Linked DNA regions of Homo sapiens: region 1 is linked to region 2. Evidence: promoter capture Hi-C in human tissues and cell types (Jung and others, 2019). All regions are on one chromosome and are shown on one strand. The core of a region is centred on a gene start or on the middle of the fragment in contact, and the rest is flanking DNA. Distances in the headings are between cores, read along the strand shown.

What was found. The method cuts DNA at HindIII sites, captures the fragments that hold promoters and counts their contacts. A contact is called where the count stands out against the background at its distance.
Region 1: a contact is called between a fragment that was not itself captured here and the fragment with the promoter of SLC25A5 in region 2, in 1 of the 25 tissues and cell types used here (pancreas).

What each region holds. Positions count from the first base shown.
Region 1 is chrX:119,594,618-119,598,504 of GRCh38, forward strand. The region is part of intron 2 of NKRF (NFKB repressing factor); the gene reads right to left. Among named protein-coding and RNA genes, the nearest start is that of NKRF, 9.9 kb to the right of the region's middle. The HindIII fragment of the contact is 5,142 bases long and covers 1-3,887 here.
Region 2 is chrX:119,465,319-119,469,693 of GRCh38, forward strand. It overlaps SLC25A5 (solute carrier family 25 member 5), which reads left to right and starts at 3,126. Exons shown (of 4, transcript NM_001152.5): 1 at 3,126-3,308; 2 at 4,343-4,375. The coding sequence starts at 3,198. It overlaps SLC25A5-AS1 (SLC25A5 antisense RNA 1), which reads right to left and starts at 3,802. Exons shown (of 1, transcript NR_028443.1): 1 at 715-3,802. RefSeq lists silencers at 2,806-3,185, 3,676-3,915. The HindIII fragment of the contact is 17,197 bases long and covers 1-4,375 here.

The DNA.
Region 1 (3,887 bases), core at 1,318-3,817, 130 kb after region 2:
GTATCACTATACACTTATTAGAATGGCCAAAATAAGTGACAATGGCTGGGCACAGTAGCTCACGCCTGTAATCCCCGCACTTTGGGAGGCCGAGGGGGGTAGATCACGAGGTCAGGAGTTCGAGATCAGCCTGACCAACATGGTGAAACCCTGTCTCTACTAAAAATACAAAGATTAGCCTGGCATGGTGGCATGCGCCTGTAATCCCAGCTTCTCAGGAGGCTGAGGCAGGAGAATCGCTTGAACCTGGGAGGCAGAGGTTGCAGTGAGCCGAGATTGTGCCACTGCACTTCAGCCTGAGTGACAGAGCAAGACTCCATCTCAAAAAAAAAAAAAAAAAAAAAAAAAAAAAAGTGACAATACCAAATGCTGGCAAAAATGAGGAGAAACTGGATCACTCAGACATTGCTGCTGGGAATGTAAAATGATACAGTCACTCTGGAAAACAGTTTGGTAGTTTCTTATAAAACCAAACATCAGGCCGGGTGCGGTGGCTCACGCTTGTAATACCAGCACTTTGGGAGGCCAAGGTGGGCGGATCACCTGAGGTCGGGAGTTCGAGACCAGCCTGACCAACATGGAGAAACCTCGTCTCTACTAAAAAGACAAAATTAGCCGGGCGTGGTGGTGCATGCCTGTAATCCCAGCTACTCTGGAGGCTGAGGCAGGAGAATCGCTTGAACCCAGGAGGTGGACGTTGCAGTGAGCCAAGATCGCACGATTGCACTCCAGCCTGGGCAACAAGAATGAAACACTGCCTCCAAAAAAAAAAAAAAAAAATCAGTTACCACTTGATCCAGCGATTGCAATTATACTCTTGGACATTTATTCCAGAGAAATGAGAACTTATGTTCACACAAAAACCTGTACACGAATGTTCATAGCAGCTTTATTTGTAACAGCCCAAAACTACAATCAGCCCAGATGTCCTTCAACAGGTGAATAGTTAGATTCTGGTACACACACACTATGGAACACTACTTGGGACAAAAAGGAACTTTTTTTTTTTTTTTAAACAGTCTCACTCTGTCACCCATGCTGGAATGCAATGGCGCGATCTCGGCTCACCGCAACCTCCGCCTCCTGGATTCAAGTGATTCTCCTGCCTCAGTCTCCCAAGTAGCTGGGACTATAAGCATGCACCACCATGCGGGGCTAATTTTTGTATTTTTAGTAAGACAAGGTCATCATGTTGACCAGGCTGGTGTCAAATTCCTGACCTCTCCGCAGGCCTCAGCCTTCCAAAGTGCTGGGATTACAGGCATGAGCCACCGCACCCGGCCATCTCTTTGTATTATTTCTTACAGTTGCATGTCAATCTATAATTATCTCAAGAAAAATTTCAGTTTAAAAAGCTGATCGGGGACTTTATCATCTTAATATCACTAAAAGTGGGACAACCGAACATGTACCCCACGATGTGATACAATAGGATATCACGGCACTATCTAGAAAGCGTTATGGCTCTCCAGAGAATTGAACCTGAAACTAATCAAGTTCCTGACTCCCAGAAACATGTGAAACACCACAAGAATGGAACTATCCAACTCCAGAATGAGGGAACAGTATGTGACAGCCCAGTTTCCTCATCAAATAAATACTGTAGAATGAAAATAAAAGGAAGAGGGAGTGGTTATAGGTTAAAGGAGATGGATCAATCAAATACATTGTATAGACTTTGTATCATGAATGAATCAAACGAGCTGTAAAAAGACATTTGAGACAAATGAAGAAAACTGAACATGCAATAGGCATTGGGTGATTTTTAAGAAATCACTGTAAATTTTGTTGAATATGAATAATGGTATGGTGACTATTTTTAAAAATTCTTATCTGATACAGATGTGTACTGAAGAATGTACAGGTGAAATGATGTCAGGATTTTATAAAATATACTCCAGACTATTGCCCACAAAAACCTAGGGCAGAATAGATGAAGAAGGGTAGCATGGCAGACTGCTGATGATTGCTGAGTGATGGGTACATGGGATTCATTAAACTCTTTTCTACTTTTGTGTGCTTGAAATTTTAAGGCAAAGCTTTAAAATATACAATTTAAAAAATGGCTCCTGGCTGAGCACAGTGGTTCATGCCTGTAATCCCAGCACATTGAGAGGTGGAGGTGGGCAGATCACTTGAAGCCAGGAATTCAAGACCAGCCTGGGCAACATGGCGAAACACCATCATTACAAAAAATAAAAATAACAAACAAACAGAAAACGTAGCCAGGCATGGTGACCCATGCCTGTAGTCCCAGCTACTTGGGAGGCTGAGGTGGGAGGATCACTTGAGCTGGGAAGGTCAAGGCTGCAGTGAGCTGTGATCACACCACTGCACTCCAGCCTGGGTGACAGAGTGAGACCCTGTCTCTTTTTTTTTTTTTTTTTTTTTTTTGAGAGGGAGTCTTGCTCTGTCTCCCAGGCTGGAGTGCAGTGGCACAATATCAGCTCACTGCAACCTCCACCTCCCGGGTTCAAGCACTTCTCCTGCCTCAGCCTCCCAAGTAGCTGGGATTACAGGCATGCGCCACCACGCCTGGCTAATTTTTGTATTTTTTAGTAGAGACAGGGTTTTGCCATGTTGGCCAGGCTGACCTTGAACTCCTGACCTCAGGTAATCCACCTGCCTCAGCCTCCCAAAGTGCTAGGATTACAGGTGTGAGCAACTGCACCCGGCTGAGACGGTCTCTTAAAAAAAAAAAAAAAAAAGGCTCCTTATGAAGATTGGCTGCTTGATAGAATAACATTTTACTACAGAGAAACAGAAACAGGAGCTCAAGTGAAGTGTTGGTTATGACGGTTACCTGCTCTCCCTTCCTACCTTCAGAGCCTTCCCCAGCCTAGGACCAAAAAAGAGATTCCTGGTAGCATTTGGGAAGAAGTTCTGAAAATGAGTAACTATCATACCTTTACATGAATCAGTTCTGAACCAGAAGGAGGGTAACATTTTCCATTTTCAGTAGAACAGGTTGCACACCCATCACGTATCATTCCACGCAAAGCAGAAGTCAAGGCACGGTGGCCTCCCCGACAGACTGCTGGAAGCTAGCTCTGTTGTAACCTGTACTTCCCACTGACAACTGTTGCTGCTAAAGCTAGCACGAGTATTTAAATACCAAGAGTAATTTTATTTTCATTGACTCTTATCTGAACATCAGAAAGCACAGTCTAAAACACAATATGGCTGGGCGGGGTGGCTCACACCTGTAATCCCAACATTTTGGGAGGCTGAGGTGGGCAGATCACCTGAGGTCAGGAGTTCAAGACCAGCTTACCCAACATGGTAAAACCCCGTCTCTACTAAAAATACAAAAATTAGCTGGGTGTGGTAGCAGGCGCCTGTAATCCCAGCTACTCAGGAGGCTGAGGCAGGAGAATTGCTTGAACCCGGGAGGCGGAGGTTGCAGTGAGCTGAGATTGCACCACTGCACTCCAGCCTGGACGACAAGAGCGAGACTCTGTCTCAAAAATAATAATAAAATAAAATAAAATAAACACAATACATTCTACATATCACTTCCATTCAAATTTGGGAGTACATATTTCCAAAGTATGAGATAAAAACAAAAGCCGGGCGCGTGTGGCTCACGCCTGTAATCCCAACACTTTGGGAGGCCAAGGCAGGCAGATCACCTGAGGTCGGGAATTCGAGACCAGCCTGACCAACATAGAGAAACCTGTCTCTACTAAAAATACAAAAATTAGCCGGGTGTGATGGCGCATGCCTGTAATCCCAGCTACTTGGGAGGCTGAGACAGGAGAATCGCTTGAACCTGGGAGGCAGAGGTTTTAGTGAGCCGAGATCGCACCATTGCCTTCCAGCCTGGGCAACAAGAGTGAAACTCCATCTCAAAAAAAAAAAAAAAAAAAAAAAAAGTCTATGAAAAT
Region 2 (4,375 bases), core at 1,876-4,375:
TAAAAATACAAAAATTAGCCAGGCGTGGTGGTGGCGTGCCTGTAATCCCAGCTACTCAGGAGGCTGAGGCTGAAGAACCGCTTGAACCTAGGAGGTGGAGGTTGCAGTGAGCGGAGATCGCGCCATTGCACTCCAGCCTGGGCGACAAGAGCAAAACTCTGTCTCAAAAAAAAAAAAATTACATTCCCTTTATTACCCATATTCTGGGTGTTGGTACATAGATATCTGAGGCCTTAAAAGTGTCATTTCTGACTCTCTTCCTTGTTTTTCCTTGAGAATTACTAGGCATTGCCTTAGCTTTAGTTCCTCTTAATTAGACTTATATTTTACATAGCTTCCAGAAACACAATAATTACTAACACAGCACTATGTCTCAATGGAGGAATTAGTTTTGATTAACTGACCAGCCATATATCATTATCAACATCATCATCATCATCATCATCATCATCATTAATATTCTTCTCGGCTGGGTGCAGTGGCTCATACCTGTAATCCCAGCAATTTGGAAGGCTAAGGTGGGAGGATCACTTGAGCCTAGGAGTTTGAGGCTGCAGTGAGCTATGATCGTGCCGCTGCACTCCAGCCTGGGTGACAGAATGAGACTCTATTTTCTATTTTCCTGGATGCTTGCTCCTTGTTTCTTTTTCCTTCTTTTTTAAAAAGTTTTTAAACTTTCAGACTTTTTTAAATGTTGCAAAAATAGTACAAAAATGTCCTTATATCCTTTATTCAACTTCTCTAAATCTTACATAACCACCATAACCAAGAATAGTATTGGTAATCTACAGATATTCAAACCTCACCAATATAACCAATGTCCTTTTTCTGGTACAGGAGCCGGTTGAGTGTCATATATTACATTCAGTTGTCAAGTATCTTTAGTCTCCTTTAATCTGTGACAGTTCCTTAGTCTCTTTGTCTTTCATGATCTTAACAGTTTCGAGAATATCTGACTCCTTAAAATACACGCGGTGATAGGTGACTACGGGAGCTCCAGCTCACCGTGGATTTAGCAAAATACCAAGTGATGACAAGAAGTTGCTTTTAAATGACCCATCTTGTATTTCATCGTCAATAAAACCACACTTAGTTACCCAAAGACTGAGAAGGGAAAAATTCTATGTAATTATTTGATCATCTTTTTTTGTGGAGAGAAAAAAAACTGACAAAACAATGAGCTCTGGAATAGAATACAGTAGAGGCATCATGCTCAAAGAGAGTAGCAGATGTGGCCAGGGAAAGGTCACATGTAGAAAAGGGATACACAAGTGATGGCGAGGTGTATCGAGGAATAATTAACAGTTGAATAAAAATGCATTAATCAGAATGTCAAGAGTTCAAACTAGAAAGATTTTGAATTTTAAATGCATTATAAATAAAATCCACCTCTCTCCAAATAAAGCCCTCTGTAGAATTTTGCTTTAGCTCTTGTTTCTCTCACCAGAATAGAGAAGCGAGTATCACCTTTGGAGGATATACTCTACCATTCTCTGAAACTGTTTTTTTGCATTCAGCTACCTCGCTATTATAATCAGCTGAGAAACACCATAGCCTTTCACTAACACAGGTCAAAGATTTCTCCCAGGATCAACAAAGCTAGATTCAAAATTGCTCCTTTGAACACATGCAATTTGTGTGCATCAGTTTCGATCGCTGGGGTTCTTGAGGAGACTAACAAATTGCAAAGTGTACTTTCAGAGGAAGGGCCTAACCATCCTGGGGGGTCCTAGAATTGGGTCCTTTCACAGGCAGATCTGGAGAAGATAGGAGAGGGCAGGAAAGGAAAGTGAAGGATATGAACACTATGTGTTCAGTGTGCAAAGGCCTGCTGGCATTTTGCCTATGGGAATTCTGAAGTCTGGGCACATAAGGTTCAGCTGCAGTTGCAGTTTTCAACAGTCGTCCTTATTTTTATAAACATTGTTATGATTATTCAGACACGGAACTTGTGATTACACTATTTGCTCCTGTTCTGAACTTGAGGGAGTCCACTTAAGCTAACAAGTAGGTTTTTGAGGACATGTGTGGCAAATGCTTACCCAGTGAAGGGATTAAGGGGCTCAGTAAGCACTTGTCCATTGGCACAATGGCTGCCAATCTAATTCTATTGATTCCTCTAAATGTTTCTGGAGTTCAGAAATCTATTCAATCCAAGGGCACTTTACCTGGGGTCCTGGGAGCCAAATGTTAACGTAGTTCTTAACCTTCCTAAGCCTCTTAACCTTCTGGGTACAACCTCTATATTTGTCTTCTGGCTAAAATCATTTCCCCACCCCCAGCCCAGTCCTTTGGACTCTCCCAGGCCAATTCCTGGCAAGATCTTTGTCGAACTGTATTTGCAAACCAGGGTCTGGGGCACGGTGGCAGTTCCTTCGTCTGCTGTTCCCTTAATTTCGTCTGGTTTCACTGGCTCCAGGACAGCACACGGTCTAGAGTGGGAAGAGTGAGGCATTCACCTTGGTGAAAAACAACTCAGTAATTAAGACAAATGATTTTTCATGTACTATTTTAAAAAAATCAGAAGCAATGCAAAAATCCATGATGAACAAATGATCAACATTTGAAATACAGACAGGATCCCAACCTGCACTTGCATGACCTTGTCTCGCTTGCCTCACCCTAAACCCAGCCTTGACACTCCAATTAAACTTTATTTACAAAACAAGGGGGCCGGCCAGTAGGATGTAGTTTGCCCATACGACTTTTTTAAAGTATCGCATTGACTACTGTTTATCTCGATGACTGAAGGGTTCTTTTGGCATCCCTGTAGCAAATGCGTCTCACCCTAGTCCTGGTCCTGCTCCAAGGGTTTTTGTCCAGGCACATCGTGACCTCACCCTTCCTCCCCTCTCCGAGGCCTCTCTCAGGGTCCAGCGTTCAAGTCCCGGGTGTTCTCTGGACCCGCCCCTTCCTCTCGCCGGGTCAGGTGCCGAGGGCGAGCACGGGCGGCGCGGAGAGCAGTCCCGGCCCGCCCTCCACGACTCCTCCTCCTGCGAGCTGGGCCACTCAGCGGCTCTGCCGCCCAGCGCGCCGGGGCCCAGACCCCGCCCCGGCCCCGCCTCCGACGCCTGCCGCTCCAGCTCCGGCTCCCCCTATATAAATCGGCCATTTGCTTCGCTCCGCCCCGCAGCGCCGGAGTCAAAGCCGGTTCCCGGCCCAGTCCCGTCCTGCAGCAGTCTGCCTCCTCTTTCAACATGACAGATGCCGCTGTGTCCTTCGCCAAGGACTTCCTGGCAGGTGGAGTGGCCGCAGCCATCTCCAAGACGGCGGTAGCGCCCATCGAGCGGGTCAAGCTGCTGCTGCAGGTACGTCCTGGGATCCAGGAGCCCAACCAGGAAGTGGGGGGAAGGGTCGCACAGAAGGCGGGCGCCCGAGGGGTGGCGGGGAGCGAACTCTAAAGACATGGCCAGGGAAGCGGCTTAGGAGAGGCCAGAGCGGGGCGCAGAGGCAGAACAGAAGTCAAACTGGTGGGAGGCGCCTTTAGTGACCTGAAGTAGTGAGTCTAGGAAGGGGCCGGGGGCAGAGGGCAGGACCAGGCTCTCGGCATCTCCGAGGCGGCGGACTCGGATGGAGCAGTTTCTGAGTGACGGCCTCCCCGGGCCTGGGCGTCAAGGGCGAAGGCCGAAAGCCGGCGTTAGAAAGAGGAACGCCAGTTCTTACCGAAGACCTCAAGGTCGCGGCAAGGAGATAACTGCCCGGGGGAGGCCATGCGCCCGGGTCCAGCGGCCTCCCAGCCCGCGGACGCGCTCAAACCTCGCCGGGCCGGAAGCCGGCGCCGGGAAGCGCGTGTGCCTTTTACGTCCGCCCCCGCGCAGCCGCGGCCGCTGCCGCCGCGTCTCCGCCTGCCTCCCTGCGCCGCGCGCTCTCCAGTGCCGGCTCTAGAGGGCGCTCCTGGGCTAGCGTGTAGGGCTGGCGGCGGCGGCGCTCGGGTCACCTCTGGGAGCGGAGTGGGGGCGGAGCGAGACGGAAGCAGCTCAGGAGACTTGAGGCGTAGGCTGCGGTCCCCAAGGTGACCGCGCCCTATGTGGGACTCGCCCTAATGCCTCTGAACCTGGGTTTGAGGTAATGACCTTTCTCCTAGGTCTGAAGGTCACGGGTCCGCTGGAGGATGCCCCCTCTCCACTCAGAGGGGTGGAGGCTTAATGCTACTGGTGCAGATCACCTCTTCCCCTGTGACAGCCTCAGAGGGTTGGGAGGGTCCAGCCAGTATGATATACGAAGACTAGATTTGAGAGAGGGGAGCCTACCTTAAAGGGCATTGATCGAGATGGCATAAGCTCTTCTCTTTCCCTTCCCCATGGTTATAACTGTCCCTGTTGGCTTCCTTCCTGTCTGTTAGGTGCAGCATGCCAGCAAGCAGATCACTGCAGAT